2 separate regions of the Homo sapiens genome follow, and region 1 is linked to region 2. The links are contacts of gene promoters, found by promoter capture Hi-C in blood cells and fetal thymus (Javierre and others, 2016). All regions are on one chromosome and are shown on one strand. The core of a region is centred on a gene start or on the middle of the fragment in contact, and the rest is flanking DNA. Distances in the headings are between cores, read along the strand shown.

What was found. The method cuts DNA at HindIII sites, captures the fragments that hold promoters and counts their contacts. A CHiCAGO score of 5 or more calls a contact.
Region 1: a contact is called between a fragment that was not itself captured here and the fragment with the promoter of TAF6L in region 2, in 1 of 17 cell types (activated CD4 T cells). The highest score is 5.4, in activated CD4 T cells.

The regions. Positions count from the first base shown.
Region 1 is chr11:62,549,996-62,553,926 of GRCh38, forward strand. No RefSeq gene overlaps it. Among named protein-coding and RNA genes, the nearest start is that of AHNAK, 5.2 kb to the left of the region's middle. RefSeq lists enhancers at 1,176-1,981, 1,982-2,787 and a silencer at 3,666-3,715. The HindIII fragment of the contact is 2,518 bases long and covers 352-2,869 here.
Region 2 is chr11:62,769,386-62,772,965 of GRCh38, forward strand. TAF6L (TATA-box binding protein associated factor 6 like) reads left to right here and starts at 2,011. Exons shown (of 11, transcript NM_006473.4): 1 at 2,011-2,105. It also overlaps a transcript of TMEM223 not described here. RefSeq lists enhancers at 249-298, 2,461-2,600 and a silencer at 1,861-2,270. The HindIII fragment of the contact is 6,431 bases long and covers 1,662-3,580 here.

The sequences.
Region 1 (3,931 bases), core at 361-2,860, 220 kb before region 2:
CTGCAGTCTCCACCTCTGGGTTCAAGTGATTATCCTTCCTCAGTCTCCCAAGTAGCTGGACTACAGTCGTGTGCCACCATGCCTGGCTAATTTTTGTATTTTTTAGTAGAGATGGGGTTTCACCATGTTGGCCAGGGTGGTCTCGAACTCCTGACCTCAGGTGATCCCTGCCCACTTCAGCCTCCCAAAGCGCTGGGATTACAGGTGTGAGCCACTTTGTCAGGAGCTACTTTCATCTGTCAGCTCATTTAATCCTTGCACACCCTGGGAGGGAGGCACTTAGTGAGGAATGGTCTCAGAAAGGGTTCGTGATTTACCTAAAATCACACAACTCACAGAGGCAAGAGTCAAAGCTTCCGCTAGCATTTAAGCCTCATGAGGACAGGGTTCTTTCTTCTCTGCTGTATGCTTTGTGCCTAGATTAACTGATTTTTTGTTTTGTTTTGGTTTTTTGCTTGTTTTTTTTTGAGACAGTCTCACTCTGTCGCCCAGGATGGAGTGCAGTGGAGCATTCATGGCTCACTGCAGCCTCAACCTCTCAAGCTCAAGTGATCCTCCCACCTTAGTCTCCCAAGTAGCTGGGACTACAGACACACACCATCATGCTCAGCTAATTTTTTTTTTTTTTTTTGGTAGAGATAGGGTCTCACTATGTTGCCCAGGCTGGTCTTGAACTCCTGGGCTTGAGCAATCCTCCCACCTCAGCCTCCCAAAGTGCTGGGATTATAGGTGTGAGCCACCGCACCCTGGCCCCTCATGCCTAGAGCACTGACTGACACATAGCAATCACTCAAGAGCATGTTTCAAATGAATGAATGAACTCCAGGTATAACTGGCTCCAAAGCCCTTGCCTTTTCTACAATAGATAGCATCCTGCATCCCAGGCTGTCACAACTTCCTCTGGCTCTCAGCCCCCAGGGAGCAATTCCTCTACTTGTGGGTCTTTCTTGCAGCTACCCAAACATTTATTGTGTGTCCAATATGGGGTTGGGGAACTGTGGTGGTGGTGGAAGCAATAGAGACCTTGGCAAGATGGAATCCCAGCAAAAAGCTCAGTCCAGGCGGAAACGGCTCCGATACCCCTTTACCTTGTCCTTTGAATTCCTTGGAGGTCCTATGCCTCCAGAGAATTGGAGTTATCTTTCCTACCAGGTAATTTACACAGCTACTCCCCCGCCAGCACCCCCCCGACACACTATGTTTTGGGTGTTTTTGTTGTTTTGTTGTTGTGGTGGTGGTGGTGGTGGTTGTTTTGAGATGGAGTCTAGCTCTGTCGCCCAGGCTGGAGTGCAGTGACACGATCTTGGCTCATCTTGGCTCACTGCAACCTCTGCCTCCTGGGTTCAAACGATTCTCCTGCCTCAGCCTCCCAAGTAGCTGGGATTATAGGCACGCGCCACCACGCCTGGCTAATTTTTGTATTTTTAGTAGAGACGGAGTTTCACCATGCTAGCCAGGCTGGTCTCGAACTCCTGACCTCATGATCCGCTTGCCTCAGCCTCCCAAAGTGCTGGGATTACAAGCGTGAGCCACCACACCTGGCCTGTTTTTTGTTTGTTTTTACACACCATGTTTTATAAGGAGTATTAAGGAGTTCTTTCGGTCCCTACTTTGCAAAGAAAACCTCCATCTTCTCGAAGGTTTAGACTCCTCTGTGATATAAAGTAAAGGCTTTCCTCTTATAAGAGGGAGGTCAGCCCTGCCGCTAGTGCTCCACCACCATTCAGAGGGAGCTGGTACCACAGTGCTCCACACGCACTGCCAAAGCTGGATGAGCTCTAGGACTTGTCATCACAGGGATACCCCAGCTTCCCCAGAAGTGACACTGCCTCCCTGGGGAGTGGGGGAGGTTCCCTGATATGTACCTGTTTTGCGTGTGTGTGTATATGTCAGTTTGTGTGTGTGTGCGCGCGTCTGTAATGAACCTTGGGCTCTTCTGTTGCCAGGCAACCTGCCTCTATTTTGTTCCTATTATGCCTGTTTCCATAGTAACCACAAAGGGGAGCTCTGTGGGCAGGCCCCTGGCCAGGGGATTCCCCTTCCCCTCCCTTCTCTCCACAGTCCCCTTTTCTGAAATCAGCATGTTACAAGGAAGAAAAGAGGTTGACTGCTCAAAGGGTAATCTCAGTTTCTGATCCCAGAAGGCAAATGAAGTGTGTGGTCTGTTTGCAGTCTCTTTAGAAGCAGACTTTTCCCCCCATGAAGGTTCTTTTGCATGATATTCTTAGAAGCAGAAAAATGGGCTGTGCCTGGTGGCTCACGCCTGTAATCCCAGCACTTTGGGAGGCCAAGGCGGGTGGATCACTTGAGGTCAGCAGCTCGAGACCAGCCTGACCAACCTGGTGAAACCCCGTCTCTACAAAAAATACAAAATTAGCCGGACGTGGTGGTGCACGCCTGTAATCCCAGCTACTCGGGAGGCTGAGGCAGAAGAATTGCTTGAACCTGAGAGGCGGAGGTTACAGTGAGCCGAGATTGCGCCATTGCACTCCAGCATGGGCAAGAAGAGCAAAACTCTGTCTCAAAAAAAAAAAAAAAAAAAGCAGCAGCAGCAGCAAAGAAATGACTGTTAACCCTTCTTAGCACCATCTGGGATCTCCCAGACCCCGCCTCCACCCCATACACACACCAGCCCAGGGATTAGCATCCCTGCCAAACAGGCCCTTCTCCATTCACTTCCGTCACTTCCTAATCTGTCATTGTCCACCCCACCCCCCAAAAGCAAATCTATCTGGTGATTCTGGAATCCAAACATTATTTCCTAAGCAATTCTCAAGCCCCAAACCCTTAACCCTAGCCGAAAATATAAAGCCAAGTAAAATCATCCTTCCCCAGCTCAATTCAAATCCCAGCCTGTATTTAAACTTCAAGCTTCAAATAAGGAGTTCCTGAATTTCTTAGATCAGAGAGCTTTGATACACAGAAACTCTCCAATTACACTCAGTCCTAATGAAATCTTCAAGCCCAACCAGAACCCAAGTTAAAGCTGGTTAGAGAACAAGAGACATGAGGCTGTCTCCAGAGTACCGTCTGGGAGGAAAGAAGGCAAAGAAAGACTGTCCAGGCAGGTGGAAGGGAAAGAAATTGGGCAGGGAGAGTGGGGCAGGTGGACACGATGGGTCATGGCTGGATTTCAGGCAGAGTTAGGGGTGTGGGAATGCTGTGGGGCAATAAGAGGAGATGCAGACCTGAGATTAAGGAAAAGAAGCGACAAGACATGAGGCTGTGAAGGAAGGAGGGAGGGAGAGAGAGAAAACAGAAGAGCTCAGCACTGAGCTAAGGACTGGGCGGGCTGAGTTGTAAACAGGAGCCGAGGGAGGGAGTTGGAGTAAACGGAGCAGCCAACGCCCCAGCCAGCTCCCCTCCCCAGTGGGGAGCAGGGAGGGAGGGGCTGAGGAAGCGGGGAACACCACCTCCTCACCCCTTTCTTGGAATCTGCTTTTCTCCTGTCCTTTCCAACTTCCTCTGCCTTTCCCCCAGCTTCCTGGGGAAAGAGAGACCAGCCTGGGTTTCCCTCTCTCCTCTGCTTACAGTTCCCTAAGTCCAGTTGAAGGAGATCAGGCTGAGCAGGGAAGGAAGGGCCTAGGCTGCCCAGAGCCTGAGTCACCACATAGTTGAGGTTCCTGTCACTCGAAGTCCCGCCTCTGTTACACTCCGTGCCCTGTGCCCGCCCCAGGACTTGGATCGCTACATCTGACCCTGGCCCCAGGGCTGGCTCCACTTCCACGCTCCTTACCAAGCTACCCTTACCAAGCTACGGGTGCAGGAAGCCTTTAGATGCCTCGCTCTCCCTGCCCCTCCACACTTGGTATGCTGTGTCCACCACCCTTATCCCTCAGCATTTGAGGGCAGCATCCTCCTGCTCAGCTTTGGAGCAGAAGTGACTCAGTGAGTGACTGCAAGGATTGTGGAAAAGCTCGGATGCACCCTT
Region 2 (3,580 bases), core at 761-3,260:
AAAACACAAAAATTAGCTGGTGGTAGTGGCAAGTGCCTGTAATCCCAGCTACTTGGGAGGTTGAGGCAGGAGAATCATTTGAACCTGGGAGGTGGAGGTTGTAGTGAGCCAAGATTGCGCCACTGCACTCCAGCCTGGGCAACAGGGTGTTACTCCGTCTCAAAAAAAGGAAAAAAGAAAAAAAGTCTGACACCAAAGCCATCATAGTTCTTGCCAGGCATTGGGTGTGTGGAGCGAGCCACCTTTCTCCCATCTGTGGCCATGGAGGTCTCACTACTGCCTTCCCTGGTTCCTGCCTCCACTCAGATTGGGAGCAAATGAGCTCCAGACAGGTTGGATACAGGTTCACTACATCTAATAGGTCCCGGGCAGTCCCGGTCTCCCTCCCATCTTCTAGTGTCTCCAAGGTTGCTGATGGCTGTCCAGAACAGTAAACCTAAGCAAGGAGGTCAGCCAGCTGCCCAGGTCTGGCTAAGCTGACTTCAGGCTCAGTCAGACCTTAGAGGAGAGCGCCCTCTCTCTTTCCCTTAACGCACAGGTGGGCAGACACTTGAAACCACTTCTAATATGGTTCTGAATATGAGTGGAAGAGACTCAGCAGGGTCACATTCTCCTTAGGTGGGGTTGCCATGGCAACCACAGTCGCATCCATCTGGCTTTGCCAGCTCGGGTCCCAGGGGATTTTCTTTTCCAGCGGCAGCAGCATCTAACCCTGAGAGGGGGAAAGAGAAAAAATGTGTACATTCATGCTCCCTTGCAGAATGTTCCCACAGTTCACTCAGTGCAAACTACCCCATCTTGGGTGAACTTAAAGGAATTCACTGTATGCCTTGTGACATGTGAGGGAAAGAAAGTTTCTCTCTTTTTTTTTTGAGACGGAGATTCACTCTTGTTGGCCAGGTTGGAGTGCAGTGGCGCGATCTCGGCTCACCACAACCTCCGCCTCCCGGGTTCAAGCAATTCTCCTGCCTCAGCCTCCCGAGTAGCTGCGATTACAGGCATGTGCCAACACACCCGGCTAATTTTGTATTTTTAGTTGAGATGGATTTTTCTCCATGTTGATCAGGCTGGTCTTGAACTCCCGACCCCAGGTGATCCCCCGCCTCGGCCTCTCAAAATGTTGGGATTACAGGCGTGAGCCACCGCGCCCGGCCGGGAAAGAAGTTTAACCTCCAACTCTGCCAGGGACTCTCACAGACATTAATTTACAACAACCCTGTGAAGTGCGCATTATTACTCCATATTAGGTAATTTGCCCAAAGGCAGTGTCAGAATTTTAACCCAGGTCGGTCTGATTCCAAATACCATCCTTTACTCACTAAGCCCACTGCTTATCAATTAAGAACTGCCCAAGTAGCTGCTATTGCAGTGGGAGTTGGAGAAAGAGAGCTGTCAGTGTGCGTGTCCAACGGTCATGCAAGGCGAGGTAGGCCAGGGCTTGTATTTGGTTCACAGGCGTGGGGAGAATGCGAAGTAGGTGCAGAAAGAGCAGAACCCTGGAGTCCGGAGCTTGCACGGGATGTTCGGCCGGGTCAGAAGTCCCTTCTGCCTGCCGAGAACACCTACCGAGAGCCCCATCTATCCCTTCAGGAAGGGGAAGTGGCATGTGATGTTGGGGAGGTAGGCCGGGCAGGAAAACTAAGCCAGACACCAAAATCTAAAGCTTTGCTGCAGTCGCGAAAATGCGGGTGCTCAGAAACTCGCGAGCAAACAAGACAAAGAAAATCAAGACGCTGTCTTTGAGACTGTTTATTTCCTCGTTACTATTGTGGTGGTAAAAAAAATAAAATATGCTTATTAAACGTGTGTTAAAACAATACACACCTACTCGCAAACGTAGCAAGAGAGGTTGCTTTAAGAAGCGGGAATCTTCAGCGTCACGTGACCGCCGGTCTCTACAGTCTGTTCACACTGGCCAATCAAGAGCCAGGAAGCCTCCTGGAGGGCCGGAAACTTTCCAAGGCGCCCGCCGACTGGCTGTATTGGGGAGGGCGGGGCCGGGGCCCCGGGAGAGGGAATGAGTGTGAGCTCGTGAGTGGGCGCCGCCGCCACCGCCCCCGCCGCCGTCGTCTCGGTAGCAGCCTTCGCCACGCCGGGGTCTTCAGGTGAGCAGGCCTTGCTCTGGTCCAAGGACTCCCCATTCCCGACGCCGACTGCTTACTCACCAGTCTTGGAGCCCGCACCGCGAGGGCCCGCCCCCTTGGCTGACCACGTGACCCAAGTTCAGTGACCCCTGACCTCCTCCCCCCGCGCACCCCCTCCCCGATCTGGGCTGGGCTAGGCCGGGTGGGAGGATGCGCGTTGCCGAGGCCCGGCCCGCGGAGGTCAGTTCCCACGCCTCCTCTCCAGCGTGACTAGTGGCTGAGGATGCGGAGGAGAGGAGGCTGAGGAGCGGGAGACTTTGGTCACAGTCTAGATTTCGTGTACGGTCATATAATAGGGAAACTCCCTCCGTGCCTTTCGCGCTGGTGGACTAAATGCTCCCATTTTACAGATAGGGAAACTGCAGCTTCACAACGATCTATTGGCGGGTCTAGGGTCACCAAGGGGTGGGTCTCCAATCCATGTCTTTGGGGTGGGATCCAGGCCTTGTTCCCCATACAGCTGGCGGCTCCTGAATGCGGTATAGAGTAAAGATTAGGAGCAAGGGGTTGAGTCCTTGCTCCCCCTCCCTACTTACTCAGTGCTTACTTCATGATCTTGGAGAAGTCATGGAACATTTAGCCTCTGAGGTTTGATTTCCTTGCCTGTGAAATAGACGAAATACATAATAATATCTTATTATTGAGAATATAGTGAAGTAATCCATATAAAGCACTTAGCTGTGTCTCAGGCATAGTACAGTGCTATTCGTGGCCGGGCGCGGTGGCTCACGCCTGTAATCCTAGCACTTTGGGAGGCCGAGGCACCTGGATTGCCTGAGCTCAGGAGTTCGAGGCCAGCCTGGGCAACACGGTGAAACCTCGTCTCTACTAAAAATACAAAAAATTAGCTGGGCATGGCGGCGTATGCCTGTAGTCCTAGCTACTCGGGAGGCTGAGGCAGGAGAATTGCTTGAACCAGGGAGGCAGAGGTTGTAGTGAGCCGAGATCACGCCACTGTACTCCAGCCTGGGTGACAGAGCGAGACTGTGTCTCCAAAAAAAAAAAAAAAGCTCGTCGGGCCAGGTGCGGTGGCTCTCACGCCTGTAATTTCAGCACTTTGGAGGCCGAGGTGGGCGGATCACCTGAGGTCAGGAGTTCCAGACCAGCTTGGCTACCATGGCGAAACTCCATCCCTACTAAAAATACAAAAATTAGCCAGGTGTGGCGGCACAGGCCTGTAATCCCAGCTACTCGGGAAGCGGAGGTTTTAGTGAGCCGAGATCAAGCCACTGCACTCCAGCCTGGGTGACAGAGTGAGACATCAGACATCATCTCCAAAAAAAAAAAAAAAGAATAGTTCTTCTTTCTTTCTTTTAGAAGATCTTTTTTTTTTGTTTGTTTTTGTTTTTTGTTTTGTGTTTTTTTTGAGACTGAGTTTAGCTCTGTCATCCAGGCTGGAGTGCAGTGGTGCAATCTCGGCTCACTGCAGCCTCTGC